Linked DNA regions of Homo sapiens: region 1 is linked to region 2. Evidence: promoter capture Hi-C in human tissues and cell types (Jung and others, 2019). All regions are on one chromosome and are shown on one strand. The core of a region is centred on a gene start or on the middle of the fragment in contact, and the rest is flanking DNA. Distances in the headings are between cores, read along the strand shown.

Region 1 (3,016 bases), core at 102-2,601, 140 kb after region 2:
GGGAGTGTAGAGAGTGAGAAAGGAAAAAAGAGGGAATTTGGGGTCAGGGAAATGTGTCAGATCCTGAGGATCAAGAATGAAGAAGTAGAAGAAAGAGGTAGGTTATATAAGATCAGCTTTGCTTGTAGCACCTACTTCTACACAACAGAAGAGCAAGAAGACCTTTCATGATTAGAGACATGGGGGAAGTGTGTATCACCAAAATGTGGCCTTTCTATCTTTCCTTGTTTCCCACCCATGGAAGCTATGATTTCTGTACCTGAATAATAAAACATAACTAAGAATCAGAGACCAAAATTTGGTGAAATGTTGGAGGCCTAGTGAGGGTTCTGTGGTGTACTTGATTTTAAGAGCAGCAAAGAACATGGAATGTGCTGATACTTTTTGCCCCATGATTTAATGGGGACTGGATGATTGATTCAGTGACATCATGCTTTTACTGCCAACAGGAGCCCTGCTATACGCCATCTTTTATGTGATCCCATGACATCAAAGAAAAGATGGACCAACGTGACTTAAGAAATCTTAGGATGTTTTTACATGGCAGTTTCACTGGAGAAGGCAAAGAATTGTAGCAAATTTAGTGTAAAGGTTTTTTTTTTGTGGGGGGAGGGTAAAGCTTTATTTAGTTTTATTTAGTTAACATTTATGACTAAATTATATACTAACTTATAACCTTTTCCTTTCAATTGCTGCAATGATCCAAATCCCACAACAAATAATGATGGGGCATGCCCAGGAGAAATAGGAATAATGAAAACTCAAAATGTGTCTCTTTTTAGGCCCTGTCTGGTACTCTTGTCACCTTTTTGTGGGCTCTCCGCATTTTGTGACATAATGCACTTGTTCATAAATACTAAAAATGTCTCCAGATAAATTCTAGCACAACCAACATTATGTTGCCAAACATATTACTTATATTTAAATGTACTTATATAAGTTTCTTCCATTATGTTCCTCATTGGATGAAAGATATTAGACTACTTAACTTCTACATATCAAAAAGGATCCCAGTTTGATTTTTCAAAACACCTTAAAACAAACAAAATGAAGTAATGTATAAAATTATATGGCCTTTTCCAAAGAAAGGAAATCACAGAACAGTGAAAAATATAGCCATATGATGCCTGATTATAAAATTGAAGGAAAAAGGAACTTATTTGGGGCAATTCCATGGATTTCTGAATGTTGACCCTTCATTGGGTAATTCTCAGTCAACTTGCAACTTCTTAAGATGCTGTAAATCTATTAAAGTTGTACTTATTATGCTTGAAAGCAATCATTGATGAAATTTGACTTGGGACCTTGAGTTGAAATGTGTTTCATGAATAATGACAAAGCTATATAAACTGGCTCTACTCAGGAATCTATTCATCCCAAAATAATCTATCAGATCTCATAAATCCTAGAATCCTACAGATCTTGGAAAGCATCATTGCAAGTTCTGAATCTCAAATTTTCTGTGGAATGTTACTATTCCATAATCTTGGGGCTCTTTGAGTGTACTATGTGCTATACTCATTGTATGCTATTTAGTAGTCATCATTTTAGGTAGGTTGTGCTCAACAAGAAATAATACATCATGTTAAGTCTATGTGCATGTCCTGAGGCACAACACCGTACTAAAGCCATGCATCTATCCAATCTAATTGGTGTGACTAATAGTCAGACAAGTTGGGCATCAAGGGCTTCCACTGATCAGCTCATGGCCTTTACAAAGTTTTTACTTTTGAGTCCACTGCTGCTGGTCCAAAGACCACACTTTTAGTAGCAAGAGCTGGTCAGTTAAACAGGTGTTTTTTTTTTATTTCTTCTCCTCCTGACAATGGAAGAGTGTCAGCCTTTGCCAGCTATTGCCAGTATTATTATTTTAGGAGATGATAAAACAGAAAAAGTTTATTCTCATGATAGCTGTTTGACGTGGATCTCATGTGTGGAGACTTCTGTGCTTCTTGACAATCAAAGACTGCTGTCACTTAAGGTACCCCAACAACTGTACCTAAAATCTACTGATCAGGCAAATGAACCCAACAAACAGGGAAAAAAAATAGAAGACAGAGAAAAGACATGTTCAAGAGGAATGGTAGTGCTAGAGGAGATAACATGATTTTAAAATGTAAAAGATTACCTATAATGAATCAATTTTTTTTAAGCAATCTTTTTCTGTTTATAAACATGAATTGGGACCTTAAAAAGCATGTAGACAAGTAGAAGAAGGCAAGGGTTATGGTTGAGACCTGTTAGGACCTGGAATAAATATCTCAGAACAAATAAAAATACCAAGAAATGGAAATGATTATGGAAATGTTTCCTGGAGAAGAGATCCAGGATACTTACCATGTTAAAATAATAAAATTTCCAAAGAACGGAAAGAGAATAGTTGAAGAAAAACAACAAATAAATTAGTAACGTATCATGAATATGAAAAAGTACCAACTGAATGTTAGATTGTGAAGATGTTAGATGTTAGAAGAAACATATCTAGGCTTATTCTGGTAAAATTCCACAGCTCCAAGAATAAAGAGAACTCATGAACTTTTGATGCGAAAACAATTTATCTACAAAAATAAAAATCAAATAAGCATTTGATTTTCATATGCAACACTGGAAGCTAAAAAATGGTAGAGTAACTTGTAGAGAATATTAGCAAGAAGGACTGCAACCCAAGTATCACATTTGCTTTCCATGATGAGAGAAAGATATGTCCAGATATTCAAGATGCTAAAGAGTACCTACCACTCAGTTATCCCGTCTGAGGGAATATTTCTCTATAAACTAAAAAACAGCAAACAGATCCGAATTGAGACTTCCATATAGTAGAATAAGAATCAGAGAGAAAAGAAGGGTGATAAATTTTGCAATAGTTATAGTCAAAATCTAAGTGGATAATTGGAGTGTAACTGGGAATGTGGAATTTAAGCACAAAACAGGAATTGTTAAACTAGAAAAGACAAACTGCAAGCGAAAAGCTAATAATAACCTCAAACCAAAAGTACCAAAGGAATAGCAAACTGGA
Region 2 (2,887 bases), core at 382-2,881:
AAGAGTTTGAGATTACAGTGGGCTGTGATTGCATCACTGCATTCCAGCCTGGATGACAGAGCAAGACCCCATCTCAGCAACAATAACAACAAAAATAATGCCATTAGAAAAACCAGTGCATTCTCTAAAATAGGTTCACAATTCTGCCTGTCTTGCTTAAGGCATTAAATTTCATGCAAACACTTCATTTGTAAATTATACAAAGGAAAACTTTAGCTTCACTTTAGTGGAATCACCATTTTCAGATTGGAAATCAAATTATCAAGGCTTTGTTTTCTGATGTAATGCAAAGTACTGGGTTTAGATTTTAGGAAAATTTCTAAATTATTTAAACCAGAACATATATTCATTATGAGAAACCTTACGTTTTTAATCAAATCCATACCTGTAATATACCTTCTTGAGCTTCGTTAAGGGAACAAAACAATTGAAGATGTGCATAGTGGCTTTAATTGGCCAGCATTTTAAAGAGGCATGTTATAGTCAGCTTTTTGAGCTTAACAAAGAGCTAGGGTATCATATGCAGTCACCATTCTTTGGGATGGGTTGTGGATTATTCAGGGAACATTTTGAAAATCCAACCAGAATCCTCCTTGCCCCATCCCCAGTCTCTTTTTAGACAGCGTTCTCTCTGTCTCTTCTGTTTACTTTCTGGATCAGCTTAGGGATTATAAAGTAATTTGACTATCAGACTAAGCCAAACATAATTGGGAAAGAGAAGCTGCCAAGAAGCAATCAGATCCACTGCATTCCAAAACCAAGCCTATTCTAAATGCTTGATGGACCATCCCCAGCACAGCCCACATGACTGTGAGCTACATGTGAATGGAGTTCTAATTGGATGCTCCCCACCACCTCAGTCCACAGACTTGAATTCACAAACCCTTGCAATAAGGAGAAAAGGAAGATGAGCTCAATCATACCTGTTCTCAGATATGCTTTACACAGCAAACCACCCAAAACTTACCAAGTAAAGAAACTGTCAGCTTTGGTCCTTAGATCCTTTGGAGAGGGAGCATTCTGGTGCCCGTCACATCCCAGGAATGATCTGTCCCCAGTTTCCAATCTGATGTGGTACTTTTTCTTGGAAGCCTTTTTGCTCCTGGCAGTTTCACTGTGGCCCTGCCCCCAGACACAGCTGAGGTTTGTAAATGAGGAAGGATGTCTCAATCTGAAGGTGTAGCAACTACTGAAGGGAGCTTGGAGGTTTTTTGTCTTTGTTTTTTTGTGCTGTGTTTTTTTTAAAAAAAAAAAAAAAAAAGAAAGAAAAGAGGCTTTATGGCCTAGAGGGGAAGCAGTTAGCAAGAGAAAATACTTTGAGTACTGTTGGTTCCCAAAACCACAAAACCCCAGGACTCAATGCAAAGCATTGCCTCAGTTTGGAATCTTTCTTGATAGAAGGAAAAGCAGTTCTCACCTGTCTTACCTTCTATTTCTGTACCAGCAGTGGCAACAGCAGCAAGTGAACAAGCAGTTCACTTCTTTCCCACCTGTTCAGAGTGACAGCTCATTTATTGCACAACTCACTTAGGGCAGAGGCATTGAGATGGGCATTTAACAGGGAGGAGCTACCAGCGCTCACCCTAGCAGAGGTGAAGTGGTATCTACTTGTCAACAGAGTATTCCAATATGAGCCTCTTTAAAGGGAGCTTGAGTAGTTATCAGGGACTGGTAGAAAGACAGGGATTGGTCCCCTAAGCTTGATGCCCTCCTTTCTCTGCAATTTTGGCTGGAATAGGAAGTAGTTTCCAGAGAGCTTGGGGCTGTTTTTGAAGGTACTTGGTTGCCCAGTGATTTGATTCACAACACACAGCCCTTAGGGCAACAAAAGGGAAAGGCCAGAATAGGCAGCATGCCAGCATTCAGAGCCTGACTGCCAGGCATACTCTTGGAGAGTGCCCAGTGTGGGGGAGACCCTGTTGGACTGGTCTCAGGTCCTAGGTCCTAACAGAGTCTAGATTACATTAAAAGAAAGTCTACAGGTGGAAACTAAGGTCCAGGAGAGAGACGCTTGAGTCATCTGCCCTCCTCCCACCTAACACCCTCTTCCTAGGCAGATGTAGAAGCAGCCTGCAACTTGTTGCTTCTTGCCCGAAGGATTCGCAGGGCTGTGAGTGAGACTCAGTCAAAAAAGAACAAGAGGTAGCCACACAGAGAGAAAATGCAGCCCAACTGTCTGGTGGCCTCCTTTATGGGAAATCTCCCCTTCCAGAATGTCAGCATCCCCTCCCTAAACGATGTTTTTTCAGATCCTTTAACAATAAAATTTAAACTGTTTCCCTGCATCTGAAGAAAGGAACCTCTTTTCCACTTTCCTCCTTTCTTCCCCCAAGTCTCCAGGTCAAATTACTGACACCCACTGGCCAGTGAAAACAACAGCAGGTTTTGTTTTCCATGTATGAGAGGAGGGTGTGTATATGTGGGTGCCGTCATAAATGTGACCAGCATCTTAAACCCACGGTAACTGAAGTTATAAGTATGCCAAAAGCAATCAGATAATTATATTTTAATAATTCATGACATCACAGAAATATACACAATGAATTTTTCCTTTACACTTTGTACTTTAGTAACAATTACTGGAATAAATTAGGTAAATTCTGTTTCAGCTTTAAGAAAGTTGCTGACAAGAATGTGCCAGATATAAATAGTTTCTAATGGAATGATTAAATAGAACAAACAATAAATAAACCGACAAGTAAATCTGTTAATAAAGTTTAAAGACTTGCACATAAAGAATTGATTCTCAGAAACAGGTAAATAATCAAAACTCTGCTCTCCACTGTAAGAAGCTTCTTAAATGAACATGGGAGTGCAGCTATCTCTTTGACATACTTATTCTATATCCTCTGGATATATATCCAGAGGTAGGATTGCAGGATTATAT

Evidence for each region. The method cuts DNA at HindIII sites, captures the fragments that hold promoters and counts their contacts. A contact is called where the count stands out against the background at its distance.
Region 1: a fragment that was not itself captured here is called in contact with the fragment with the promoter of BBOX1 in region 2 in 2 of the 25 tissues and cell types used here (dorsolateral prefrontal cortex and mesendoderm cells).

The regions. Positions count from the first base shown.
Region 1 is chr11:26,897,592-26,900,607 of GRCh38, reverse strand. No RefSeq gene overlaps it. Among named protein-coding and RNA genes, the nearest start is that of FIBIN, 95 kb to the left of the region's middle. The HindIII fragment of the contact is 6,455 bases long and covers 1-3,016 here.
Region 2 is chr11:27,039,559-27,042,445 of GRCh38, reverse strand. It overlaps BBOX1 (gamma-butyrobetaine hydroxylase 1), which reads right to left and starts at 1,631. Exons shown (of 9, transcript NM_003986.3): 1 at 1,418-1,631; 2 at 968-1,230. The HindIII fragment of the contact is 6,644 bases long and covers 1-2,887 here.